Linked DNA regions of Homo sapiens: all the other regions are linked to region 1. The links are contacts of gene promoters, found by promoter capture Hi-C in human tissues and cell types (Jung and others, 2019). All regions are on one chromosome and are shown on one strand. Each heading gives the region's core, a stretch centred on a gene start or on the middle of the fragment in contact. The rest is flanking DNA. Distances are from core to core; before and after follow the strand shown.

The links. Contacts are between HindIII fragments. The study calls those that stand out against the background at their distance.
Region 2: a contact is called between a fragment that was not itself captured here and the fragment with the promoter of UNC5A in region 1, in 2 of the 25 tissues and cell types used here (dorsolateral prefrontal cortex and mesendoderm cells).
Region 3: a contact is called between a fragment that was not itself captured here and the fragment with the promoter of UNC5A in region 1, in 1 of the 25 tissues and cell types used here (dorsolateral prefrontal cortex).
Region 4: a contact is called between a fragment that was not itself captured here and the fragment with the promoter of UNC5A in region 1, in 4 of the 25 tissues and cell types used here (IMR-90 fibroblasts, dorsolateral prefrontal cortex, lymphoblastoid cells and 1 more).
Region 5: a contact is called between a fragment that was not itself captured here and the fragment with the promoter of UNC5A in region 1, in 3 of the 25 tissues and cell types used here (lymphoblastoid cells, mesendoderm cells and neural progenitor cells).

What each region holds. Positions count from the first base shown.
Region 1 is chr5:176,809,245-176,811,881 of GRCh38, forward strand. It overlaps UNC5A (unc-5 netrin receptor A), which reads left to right and starts at 1,315. Exons shown (of 15, transcript NM_133369.3): 1 at 1,315-1,576. The coding sequence starts at 1,507. The HindIII fragment of the contact is 11,668 bases long and covers 1-2,637 here.
Region 2 is chr5:177,035,028-177,037,664 of GRCh38, forward strand. The region is part of intron 1 of ZNF346 (zinc finger protein 346); the gene reads left to right. Among named protein-coding and RNA genes, the nearest start is that of ZNF346, 14 kb to the left of the region's middle. The HindIII fragment of the contact is 3,200 bases long and covers 1-2,637 here.
Region 3 is chr5:177,015,107-177,017,743 of GRCh38, forward strand. It overlaps a transcript of UIMC1 not described here. Among named protein-coding and RNA genes, the nearest start is that of ZNF346, 6.3 kb to the right of the region's middle. The HindIII fragment of the contact is 8,034 bases long and covers 1-2,637 here.
Region 4 is chr5:176,989,661-176,992,297 of GRCh38, forward strand. All of the region lies in intron 1 of UIMC1 (ubiquitin interaction motif containing 1), which reads right to left. Among named protein-coding and RNA genes, the nearest start is that of UIMC1, 16 kb to the right of the region's middle. The HindIII fragment of the contact is 7,516 bases long and covers 1-2,637 here.
Region 5 is chr5:176,972,139-176,974,775 of GRCh38, forward strand. All of the region lies in intron 3 of UIMC1 (ubiquitin interaction motif containing 1), which reads right to left. Among named protein-coding and RNA genes, the nearest start is that of UIMC1, 33 kb to the right of the region's middle. The HindIII fragment of the contact is 4,949 bases long and covers 1-2,637 here.

The DNA of each region.
Region 1 (2,637 bases), core at 65-2,564:
GACTTAAGAGGAAAGCAAAACATTTTTCATAACCCTTCTCTATCAAAAGTGGGAAACAAAAGACAGACCGAGAGAGGGCCTCGTGTCTCAAGAAATATAGGAGAGCTCATATCTCTTTGTGGAAGCAAGACCATCCCTTACATCGCCTAGCCTGCAGCGCCAATTTATATTATCGACCGGCCCCGTAGGCGTTTGAGTTTGCGACCCTGCCCTCACCCTGCTCATTCCCCTCCCGACCCAGACTAGGACCCTCTCTTTTTCCGATCACTCCCCCCAGGCACACCGCACGCGGCTGTCATTTCCTTTCTCCTTCAAGGCAGCCCTCTGTTTATTTTAACCCGATTAGGGAATGGGGGTGGGGCACAGGAGACTCCAGCAGCGGTCACTGCTGGAGGCTCCAGGAGACGACGTGACTTGACCAAGGTCACAGAGCTGGAAGGTGAAGTCGCCTGGACCCTACCCCCGGTCTCCCTAGCTGCCAAAGCCCAGCTCGTTCCTTTACACCCACGTCGCGGGCGCCGTGCGCTCTCGGGGCTCAAACACCGCGCGCCCAGTCGGGTGTGCTGCGCCTGAAGGTTGTTTTCCTTCGGCGAACGGCGCCGAGGGGTTAGGGAAACCTTGGGTCATGGTGTGAGGCGCGCCCCTGGAATCCACCAGCCTGCGAGGCTGGGACTGCGGGTGTCCCCGAGTCTGGCCTGCCAGCTCTGGTGGCCAGGGCACCTCTGCGCGCGGGCCAGGGCCCCGGGGCTCTCCCGCAGTCCCCTAACCAAGCCGCGGGCTGGCAGCGTACCGCGGCGCCCGGACGACCCCGGAGCGCGGCCGCGAGGAAAGGGCGGGGGAGAGGACTGCAGCGGAACCTGCCCGGGGCACCCCTGCCCTGGGCGGCTCTCCGCAGGCTGGCGCCGCGCCGGGGTCGCCGCAGCCCCGGGCCCCTCCCGGGCCACCTGTGCGCAGACTGGCGGGCCCGCGAGAGCCCGGATCCGGAGCACCGATCCACTCCGGGTTTCAGACTCCTGCCCCTGTCCCTGGAGACCCCGCGGGGCGGTGGGAGGCCTCCACGCCCACCACCCCAAGCCCCTCCCTGGGGGAGCCTCAGGCATCGCCCAGAGGGATTCCCGGTGCTGGGGGTGGCCCGCGCGCGCTGCGCGGGGCGGCCCGGCCCCTCCTTCCTTCCCCCGCCCCTCCCAGCCGCCGCCCCGCTCCGTCGCTCCAGTCCGGGTTTTGCGGCGCCCACCGGCCCGCTCTCCGGCTGCGGGCTCCGCGGCGCGGCTGGCTCGGTGCGCGGCGCGGCTGGCGCTGCGCTCCGCCCCGGCTGCATTGCTGCGCTCCCGTGCCCAAGGGAGCCACGCGCCGCGTGCGCCCGGCAGCCGGCCGCCCGGAGGCAGCGCAGTCCGCTGGCATGGGCCCCGGGGGCGCCCCGAGCTGGGGCTCCGGGCTGAGGCGCTAAAGCCGCCCTCCCGCCCGCGGGGCCCCGCGCCCGGCCCGCCCGCCTGCCCGCCCGCGGCCATGGCCGTCCGGCCCGGCCTGTGGCCAGCGCTCCTGGGCATAGTCCTCGCCGCTTGGCTCCGCGGCTCGGGTGAGTCACGCCGCGCGCGCTCTGGGGAGGCTTGCGGGGGACCGTGCGCGCGAACGCTCGCTGCTCTGGGGGTCCCTGACCAGCGCTGCCAGACCCGGCTGGGAGCCCCCCGAGGCCAAACTTTGCGAGGCGGGACGCGGGGGGCTCTTCTTGCTGCTGCGCAGCTTCCCCGCGCGCTCTCCCGGAAGCCTGGGTTCTGCCAAGTCCAGGAGCAGCTGTCAGCCCGCGGGGCTGGCGAGTGTAGACACCCCACGCCTCCGGGTGGGGGAAGTTTGCTGGTTGCCTGGGCCCGGAGCAGGGCTGGGGGTTTGGATCAACCCCAGGGAGCCTGACTTTGAGGATTCGAAGATTAGAGGGTTTTGAGCCTATCCCAGTGCCCAGGAAATGGGGGGTGCGGGGAACGTTTAAGATACCTCTTCCCGGTAGCATCTGCCCTAAACAGCCACTCACAATCTCCCAGCTTGGCACCTGGCCTCTGCCCACGTCCAGAACACAGTGTCCTCCTCTGTCCCCGCCACACACGCTCTCACACGCACACACTCAGGCGTGGAGGCGCATACACCAGCCCCCAGTCCTTGCAGCCAGCACAGTCAAAGCGCCGCGGTCCCGGTGGCCGGGGCTGTGGCTCCTGGCCTCCCTGGTGCGGGGGGCCAGAGTTGTGTGTGGTTGGTCCGCCAGTTTCCCCTTCTTCCTTAAACTCCATAGCCTTTCTTGGCCCCTGCATGCCCCATTGGTCACCCTAACCCACTGCTAACTCAGCCCTCAGCCCACCTCATTCCCTTGGGAGGGGCTTGGGGGGAGGAAGTTCCCCTGCATCCTTTGTCTGCTGTCCCTGAGCCTTCACCTAGGCTGAGCTGTGGGGGCCTCCTGATCTCTGCCCCCCATGCACTTAGCTGAGTTGAGCGTATGTGTCTGTGGTGGTGGGGGGTGGGTGCCATTTGTGTGGTCAAGGGGGCTTGAGGCTTACCCTGGCAATTCTCGATTCTTGCTGCCCCTAGAACCTGGGCGGTTACTCCCCAGCCTGGCCAGGCCGCTGCTTATAACAGGGGTGTTGGAAGGGA
Region 2 (2,637 bases), core at 46-2,545, 230 kb after region 1:
TTTTTTTGAGATGGAGTCTTACTCTGTCGCCCAGGCTCAAGTGTAGTGGCACGATCTTGGCTCACTGCAACCTCCACCTCCTGGGTTCAAGTGATTCTTGTGCCTCAGCCTCCCAAGTAGCTGGGATTATAGGCACATAGCACCATGCCTGCCTAATTTTTTTATTTTTGGTGGAGACGGGGGTTTGCCATGTTGGCGAGGCTGGTCTCAAACTCCTGGCCTCAAGCAATCTACCTGCCTTGGCCTTCCCAAGTGTTGGGATTACAGGCTGAGCCACCACGCCCTGCCTCTCCAGTGAATGAATGAAAAGCACCTCATTTTCCATATCAAATCTTTTGCACCCTGGAGAGATAGTTGGTAGTTGGATTAAAGTTGTGTGCAGATATCATGGCAAAAAGGATGTGTAGTCAGGCTGCCATCTCAGAATTTTGACAATTTTTTTTTTTTTTTGAGACAGAGTTTTACTCCTGTTGCCCAGGCTGGAGTGCAATGGCGCAATCTTGGCTGACTGCAGCCTCCGCCTCCCGGGTTCAAGCAGTTCTCCTGTCTCAGCCTCCCGAGTAACTGGAATTACAAGTGCCTTACCATCACACCCGGCTAATTGACTTTTTTTTTTTTTTTTTTTTTTGAGACAGTTTCACTGTGTCGCGCAGGCTGGAGTGCAGTGGCATGATCTCGGCTCACTGCAACCTCCGCCTCCTGGGTTCAATCGATTCTCCTGCCTCAGCCTCCCAAGTAGCTGGGACACAGGCACCTGCCACCATGCCCTGGGGCTAAACTTTTTTGTATTTTTAGTAGAGACAGGGTTTCACTATGTTGGCCAGGCTGGTCTTGAACTCCTGGCCTCGTGATCCGCCCGCCTCTGCCTCCCAAAGTGCTGGTATTACAGGCGTGAGCTACCGCACCCGGCCTAATTGACAATTTTATCCAAGTTTTTTTTTTTTTTCCCTCTGTGGGCCTTAGCTTCCTCCAACCTCATAAACCTCTCAGTTTTTGTGGGCCAGGAATTTGGGAAAGGCTTGGCTGGATAGTTCTGATTCAGGGTCTCTTATGCAGTTGCAGTCAGATGGTGGCTCAAGTTGAAACAGCAGGGAAATGGAGCATCTGGGAGCTAGAGCTGAAACAACAGCGGGGTGGAGCCTCTGGGGGCTGGCCAGACATCTCTCTTTTCATGTGGTGTCAGGAACTCTCCATGTGGTCTTGATGCATGAAATAGTCTGGGGTTTCTCACAGCTTGGTGGCCTCAGAGCAGTCAGACTGCTTACATGGTGGGCAAAGGCTTTAAAAGCAAACATTCCCAATTTGGTTCCCTTTTATAATTTCTACTTTAATGTGTTTATGTTGCTTAGTGGTCAGATTAACTAGGGATTCAACAAGATCTTGTTCTAAACACCTGGAGCCTATAAGCCCTTGATTTTGTATTGTTGGATCTGTGTGTTGGTAGGGAAGCATAATCAAAGTTCAAGTCATTTTGAGATCTACCCTTCCCACGAGGTCCTTTTGCATCTCTTTTGTGTGTGTACGCAGCCTCAGGGTGGCCATGAGTATGTGGCTAACTTGGGCCCTCTCAGGTCTCCGCTGTCACACAGTCTCAGCCAGGAACACACTTGCCCCAACCATGAGCACACCTCCGGCCAGTGAAGCCTTTCACTCTTCCTGCTTACTGCCTTGGAGATCATCATTTCCATCAACAATATTGCTACATGTAAAGGAAATCAAGTGATTTCCTTCCTTCTGTATGGAAGCTATTTGTTTTCATGGCTAGCACCTTCTTGCCAGAGTTTCTACACCGATTGCAGGAAGGGCTGAGAGCAGCCTCACCTGAGCCTGGGAAATTGAGGCTACAGTGAGCTGACATTATGCCACTGCACTCCAGTGTGGGCACTGCAGCCTGGGAAACCCTGAGGTTTTGTTTGTTTGTTTGTTTTTCCCCATCTGGGGAAAAAAAAAAGCCGCTGATTCCTACTGTTCTTACCTGAAGTTCAGCAGTTTTGCAAGCACAAAATTGCTCTCGGATTGTTAAGTCCCTTTGGTTAACTTCCAGAGTGCTGAAGTGGTTGGTTTTGTCAGTTTTGTCCGGTTTTGTCAGTTTTGTCCTGTTTTATTGTTGCTTCTGCAGGAGATCTCCTCACTCTGCCTTGGCCAGAAGTTCCACCCTGTACTCACTTTGTTTTATATTCAACTTCGCTTCCTCTGCCTGACTTCAAAATTGGGAGGGTCCCAAGGCTCAGTCTCTGAACCTCTTTCCTTCTTCATCTACGCTAGGCAATCTCTTCCAGCCCCACAGTGTTCAATATGATTGATATACCAATGATTCCCCATTTATATCTCCAGCTCTGACCTCCCCCTTGAGCTTCAAGTGACTGACAGATCTGAATCTCCAACTCATCTCCACCTATATATCTGATAGACTACTCACACTCACATAACGAAAAGTCTTTAATTTTTCCTCCAAGGCTATCTTCCCCTAGTTCTAATCTATTCACTTGTTCAAGTTCAAAACCTAGGAGTTATCCTTGACTCCTTTCCTTCCTTCACTCCCACCCCCACATCCAGTCTAAGAAATCAGATGTCAAACCTATTGCCGGAACATAATTCCAAATTCATTCACTTTTCTCCATCTCCACTGACAACCTG
Region 3 (2,637 bases), core at 71-2,570, 210 kb after region 1:
TAGCTTTTGGAATAAACTACATAGCTACCATTTACTATGTGCCAAGCAATGTGCTAAGTAGTTTACGGAGATTATATTAGTTAATCTTCACAACAACCATTTGAGGTGGGTATCATCTCCTCATTTTACAGATGGAGAAGCAGCCTCACAAATGTTAAGGAATTTACCTAAGATCACATAACTCATGCATGCAGAATGGAGCAATACATGTCAAGCTAAGTACCACACAGCGTTAACTGCTCAATTCTCAGAGATTTGTGGTTAATCCCCAGCCTGCTTGCCTCAGACATTGTCAGGGTTCAAGATATGACGGCTATCTGTTGCAGCTGGACTCTCTTCCTGATATGGCTCTGGACATACATCCCTCCAGCTCCAAGGGTGGCCCAGCGGGGCATGTAGAGTGGCTGGAATTCCCAAACTGTCACTGCAGTGATGAGGAGGAGCAACCTTATCTGTTTACTCTAACATGCTATACAGATATGCTCATTTTCTATGTGGACTATAATGGAGAAAAGGCTGGAAAGCATTACTTGACTCTAACCCAAAATCCTCTGTAAATCCCAGTCTGTGATCAACAGACTCCCCTCTGCCCTCAATCTGTCCTTAGAAAGTCTCTAAATTAAAACCTGGCATCCCCTGAAGACACTGCTTCCCTGCGTCCCTAAAGATACCATAAAATTAGGCCAGGCATGGTGGCTCACACTTGTAATCCCAGCACTTTGGGAGGCTGAGACAGGCAGATCACTTGAGGTCAAGAGTTCGAGACCAGTTTGGCCAACATGGTGAAACCCTGTCTCTACCTAAAATTAAAAAATTAGCCAGACGTGGTGGCGCACATCTGTAATCCCAGCTACTCAGGCAGCTGAGACAGAATCACTTGAACCCGGGAGGCTGAGGGTGCAGTGAGCCGAGACCACGCTACCACATTCCAGTCTGGGCAACAGAAGAAGACTCCATCTCAAAAAAGAAAAAAAGAGGCAGGACGCGGTGGCTCATGCCCATAATCCCACCACTTTGGGAGGCCAAGGTGGGGGGATCACCTGAGGACAGGAGTTTAAGACCAGCCTGACCAACATGGTGAAACCCCGTCTCTACTAAAAATACAAAATTAGCCAGGCATGGTGGCTGGTGCCTGTAATCCCAGCTACTCAGGAGGTTGAGGCAGGAGAATCGCTTGAACCTGGGAGGCAGAGGTTGCAGTGAGCCGAGATCATGTAATTGCCCTCCAACCTGGATGACAGAGCAAGACTCCATCTCAAAAACAAAACAAAACCAAACAAACAAAATACTATAAAATTATCCAGGCTGGGCACGGTGGCTCATGCCTGTAATTCCAGAACTTTGGGAGGCCGAGGCGGGCGGATCACGAGGTCAAAAGATCGAGACCATCCTGGCCAACATGGTGAAACGCCCCTCTACTAAAAATACAAAAAAATTAGCTGGGTGTGGTGGCACGCACCTCTAGTCCCAGCTACTCAGAAGGCTGAGGCAGGAGAATCGCTTGAACCTGGGAGGCAGAGGTTGCAGTCAGCCGAGGTTGCAGTGAGCCGAGATCTTACCACTGCACTCATGCCACTGCACTCCAGCCTGGCAACAGAGTGAGACTCCGTCTCAAAAAAGAAAATTATCCAGTAGGCCGGGCGCGGCGGCTCATGCCTGTAATCCCAGAACTTTGGGAGGCCGAGGCAGGTGAATCACCTGAGGTCAGGAGTTCAAGACCACCCTGGCCAACATGGTAAAACCCCGTCTCTACTAAAATTACAAAAAATAGCCAGGCATGGTGGCGGGTGCCTCTAGTCCCAGCTACTCAGGAGGCTGAGGCAGGAGAATCACTTGAACCCAGGAGGCAGAGGTTGCAGTGAGCTGAGATTGCGCCATTGCACTCCAGCCTGGGTGACAAGTGTGAACCTCTGTCAAAATAATGAAATGAAATATGAAATGAAATGAAAAATGAAATGAAATAAAGAAGCCTGAGAAGTGGACTAGGATTGCAGCAAAGATGTGCCCCTGGGCCCCTGCTGGGCTTGGTAGTTCCACAGTTCTCCTCAAGAGCACCCCTTCTGTTCTGGACCAATCTCAGATTCTGATTCAAACAACACTTCTTTACATCCTGTTAGTAAAAGCTAATCTGTGGCCACCTCTAATAGTTTGAGATGTGTTCTTAGAGATGAGAAATAAAAAGACTATTAGGAGGTAACTCAGATACCATTCTGATCCCCACATGGTAGATTCATTGTCCCACCCCATCCACACTAGCCCACTAGCCTTGGCTGTCATCTCCCTCTTTTTTATTTTTTTGAGATGGAGTCTTGCTCTTCTTGCCCAGGCTGGAGTACAGTGGCGCAATCTCGGTTCACTGCAACCTCCGTCTCCTGGGTTCAAGCAATTCTCCTGCCTCTGCCTCCTGAGTAGCTGGGATTACAGGCTTCTGCCACCATGCCTAGCTAATTTTTGTATTTTTTAGTAGAGACGAGGTTTCACCATTTGAACTCCTGTCCGCAGGTGATCCGCCCACTTGGCCTCCCAAAGTGCTATGATTACAGGCCTGAGCCACCACGCTGGCCCTTTTTTTTTTTTTTTTGAGACAGGGTCTTGCTGTGTCACCCAGGTGGTAGTGCAGTGGTACAACAGCTCACT
Region 4 (2,637 bases), core at 74-2,573, 180 kb after region 1:
AAAAAAAGAAATATACTTTTAACTTCTGTATTTAAATACAGTTAACAGAATATTTATTGCATATGCAATGCAGAGGTAGCTAGTTATTATTTAAGTATACATAAATTCATACTAAAGCAGTAACATCTCACTAGATAACTAGATATGACCTATCCACTATGGTCTAAATGTTTGTGTCCCTCCAAAATTCATATGCTGACATCTAATCCCCAATGTGTTGGTAAGAAATGGGGCCTGGGGCCAGGCGCAGTGGCTCACGTCTGTAATCCCAGCACTTTGGGAGGCCGAGGCAGGCAGATCATGAGGTCAGGAGATCGAGACCATCCTGGCTAACATGGTGAAACCCCGTCTCTACTAAAAATACAAAAAAATTAGCCAGGCGTGGTGGCGGGAGCCTGTAGCCCCAGCTACTCGGGAGGCTGAGGCAGGAGAATGGCGTGAACCCGGGAGGTGGAGCTTGCAGTGAGCCGAGATCGAGCCACTGCACTCCAGCCTGGGCAACAGAGCGAGACTCTGTTACAAAAAAAAAAAACAAAAACAAAGAAAGAAATGGGGACTTAGGGAAGTCATGAAGACACAGCACTCATGAATGGGACTAGTGCCCTTATAAGAGAGGCCTAAGAGAACCTGTTTGCCCCTTTTACCCTTCTGCCATGTGAAGACACAGCAAGAAGGTCCCATCTTTTAAGCACAGTGCAAGCCCTCATCAGGCACCTTGATCTTACATTTACCAGACTTCAGAACTGTGAACAAAAAAAATTGTATTGTTTATAAATTACCCAGTCTAAGATATTCTGTTATAGCAGCAGGAAAAGGTTAAAAACCTATCAAGTTACCATTACACAAATTAAAACACAAATAAGATGACATATTTGTACTTCCTAAAATAAATTAATTTTATATTAATTCGCAAGAAGTGAATTTTCTAAACCCCAAACTGTAACAGAAATGGAAAAAACACATGCAACTTTGTACAAATGTTGCCATATTTCTAATATAAATAGATTTTATATTTATGTTTTTGTTTCTTGAGATAGGGGCTTGTTCTGTTGCCTTGGCTTGAATGCAATGTGTATGATCATAGCTCACTGCAACCTGTAACTCTTAGGTTCAAAGAATCCTCCTGCCCCAGCTTCCCAGGTAGGTAGGACTACAAGAGTACACCACAACACTCAGCTAATTTTTTTTTTTAAAGAGATGGGGGTCTTGCTGTGTTGCCCAGGCTGGTCTTGAACTCCTGGCCTCAAACGATCCTCCTGCCTTGGCCTCCTAAAATGCTAGGATTAGAAGCACAAGCCATCATGACTAATCAAGTCCTCAGTTTTATTTTTTATTTTATTTTTTATTTTTATTTTTATTTTTTTTGAGACAGAGTCTCGCTCTTTCGCCCAGGCCAGACTGCAGTGGCACTATCTCGGCTCACTGCAAGCTCTGCCTCCCAGGTTCACACCATTCTCCTGCTTCAGCCTCCTGAGTAGCTGGGATTACAGGCGCCCGCCACCACGCCCGGCTAATTTTTTTTGCATTTTTAGTAGAGATGGGGTTTCATCGTGTTAGCCAAGATGGTCTCGATCTCCTGACCTCGTGATCCACCTGCCTCAGCCTCCCAAAGTGCTGGGATTACAGACATGAGCCACCAAGCCCGGCCTCAGTTTTAATTCACCTTACTCTACCTTTTTAGATTCAGGTCTGCTACTACCATAATGAAGACTACCCAAAGAGCAAATCTCTTTGGGGAGAAACAGCAAAGACAACTGAGGGGAAAGAATATGAAATCTGGCAAATTGAGAAGACAGATCTGACCAGCCTGGGCAACACAGAAAGACTGCCTCTCGATCACCTGAGGTCGGGAGCTCAAGACCAGCCTGACCAACATGGAGAAATCCCATCTCTACTAAAAATACAAAATTAGCCAGGCATGGTGGCACTATTGCATTCAAGCCTGGGCAACAAGAGTGAAACTCCGTCTCAAAAAAAAAAAAAAAAAAAAGGCCAGGCGCGGTGGCTCACACCTGTAATCTCAGCACTTTGAGAGGCCGAGGCGGGCAGATCACGAGGTCAGGAGATCGAAACCATCCTGGCTAACACGGTGAAACCCCAAGTCTACTAAAAATACAAAAAATTCGCCGGGCGTGGTGGCAGGCAACTGTAGTCCCATCTACTCGGGAGGCTGAGGCAGGAGAATGGCGTGAACCTGGGAGGCAGAGCTTGCAGTGAGCCGAGATTGTGTCACTGCACTCCAGCCTGTGAGACAGAGCGAGACTCCGTTTCAAAAAAAGAAAGACCCCACCTCTACAAAAAAATTTTAAAAATTAGCCAGGTGTGGTGGTGCACACCTATAGTCCCAGCTACTTGAGAGGCTAAAGTGGCATGATCACCTGAGCCTAGGGAGGTGGAGGCTGCATTGAGCCATGATGGCGCCACTGCACTCTAGCCTGGGCAACAGAGTGAGACCTCATCTCAAAAGAAGAGATAGATTAATACTTAGAGAACTGCCAGCCAAGAGTTCTTAACCTGTCAATCCAAAAGCCCTTAAAGAATCTATAGATTGGCTTCAGGGGATTAACTAAAATTGTGTGTAAAATTGGTTTTTTCTGTATCTTCCTTGGAAAAATTTTTATATTTTTTATTGAATTC
Region 5 (2,637 bases), core at 74-2,573, 160 kb after region 1:
GCCTGTAATCCCAGCACTTTGGGAGGCCAAGGTAGGCGGATCATGAGATCAGGAGATCGAGACCATCCTGGCTAACACGGTGAAACCCCGTCTCTACTAAAAAAATACAAAAAATCAGCCAGGCATGGTGGTGAGCGCCTATAGTCCCAGCTACTCACGAGGCTGAGGCAGGAGAATGGCGTGAACCCTGAAGGCAGAGCTTGCAGTGAGCAGAGATGCGCCACTGCACTCCAGCCTAGGCAACAGAGTGAGACTCCGTCTCAAAAAAAAAAAAAAATCAATTCTACAAAAAGGTCAATAAAATGCATAAACCTCGGCCAGGAGCGGTGACTCATGCCTGTAATCCCAGCACTTTGGGAGGCCAAGCCAGGCAGATCACCTGAGGTCAGGAGTTTGAGACCAGCCTGGCCTACATGGTGAAACCTCATCTCTACTAAAAATACAAAAATTAGCTGGGCGTGGTGGCAGGCGCCTGTAATCCCAGCTACTCGGGAGGCTGAGGTAGGAGAATCGCTTAAACCCGGGAGGCGGAGGTTGCAGCGAGCCAAGATCACGCAACTGCGCTCTAACCTGGGCGACAGAACAAGACTCCATCTCAAAAAATTAAAAAATTAAAAAATTAAAATGCATAAACCTCTTAACTGCTCAAGAACAAAAACACAACAACAATTAACAATACCGACAATAAAAGAGGAAACAAGATTATAAATTCTACAGTCACTAAAAGAATAAATAAGGGAATACTATGAATGATTTTATACCAGTAAGTCTGGCAACTTCTTTTTTTTTTTTTTTGAAATGGCGTCTCTCTCTGTTGCCCAGGCTGGAGTGCAGTGGCGTGATCTCAGCTCACTGCAACCTCTGCCTCCCAGGTTCAAGCGATACTCCTCCCTCAGCCTCCGAAGTAGTTGGGATTATAGGTGCCTGCCACCAGGCCCGGCTAATTTTTGTATTTTTAGTAGAGACGAGGTTTCACCATGTTGGCCAGGCTGGTCTCAAACTCCTGACCTCAGGTGATCCACCCGCCTCGGCCTCCCAAAGTGCTGGGATCACAGGCATGAGCCACTGGGCATGGCCAAGTCTGGCAACTTCTATCATGCATTCTCAACAAGAGTGATACCATCCCCAAGTGGACAAAAATTGGTTCTTGGAGGCAAAAATAAAATAAAATAAAAATCTTTTTATATATAAGATACAGACATACAATCAGTACATAAAACGGAATACAAAGCTTATCTGTGGTATTAAAAATATCATGGGGATGGCAGTGGTTAGAGGGAAAAATAGTCTAAAAAGGCACCTCAGGAGAGTAACAATGAAAAACAGGGCCAGGTACAGTGGCTCATGCCTATAATTGCTCAAGTCCAGGTGGTCGAAGCTGCAGTGAGCCAAGATCACACCAATGCATTCCAGCATAGGTGACAAAGTGAGACCCTGTCTCAAAAAAAAAAAAAAGAAAAGAAAAAAATAAATTTTAAAAAATAGCTGGGTGTAGTGATGCACACCTACAGTCTCAGCTACTCAGGAGGCAGAGGTGGGAAGATCACTTAAGCCCAGCAGTTCGAGACCAGCCTAGGCAACATAGTGAGATCTTGTCTCTACAAATAATAAAAAACTAGCTGGATGTGGTGGTATACACCTGTGGTCCTAGCTACTTGGGAGGCTGAGATGAGAGGATCACTTGAGCCCAGGAGGCAGAGGTTGTAGTGAGCCACTGCATTCCAACCTGGACAACAGAGGGAGACCCTGTCTCAAAAAGAAAGAAAAAAAAATTAGCTGGGTATGGTGATGCATGCCTGTTAGTCCCAGCTATTCAGGAGGCTAAAGCTGGAGGATCACTTGAGCCTAGGAGGTTGAGGCTACAGTGCTGCAGTCACACCACTATATTCCAGCCTGGGCGACAGAGTAGGACCCTGCCTCAAAAAACAGTAGTAATAAACAAATAATAAAATTAAATTTATATAGGAATGCAAAGGACCCAAATTAATCAAAACAATTTTTAAAATAAAGTTGGAAGAATTATACTACCTGATTTTAAGACATTATAAAGCTACATTAATCAAGACAGTGTGGTATGGCATAATGACAAACATAAATAAATGGAAAAGAACAGAAAATTCAGAAATAGACCCATGCATTGATTTTCAACACAAGGAAAGGACAGTCTTTCCAGCAAATGGTACAAGAATGATTGGATATCCATATGGGAAAAAAATGAACCTTAATTCTTACCTTGCACCATATACAAAAACTCAAAATAGATCAGAAATCTAAATGCTAAAGCTAAAACTATAAAATTTCCAGAAGAAAATAGGTGGAAATCTTCATAACCTTAGCGTAGTCAAAGATTTCTTAGGACATAGAAAGAAAAAAAACCATAAAAGAGAAAAAAATGGACCACATCAAAGTTTAAAACTTCTGTTCTAGCCAGGCATGGTGGCTCATGCCTATAATCCCAGCACTTTGGAAGGCTGAGGCGGGTGGATCGCTTGAGGTCAGGAGCTGGAGACTAGCCTGGCAAACATTAGCAGAGTGTAGTGGCATGTGCCTGTAGGCCCATATACTCAGGAGGCTGAGGTGGGAGAATCGTTATGAACCCGGGAGGCAGAGGTTGCAGTGAGCCAAGATCACGCCAGC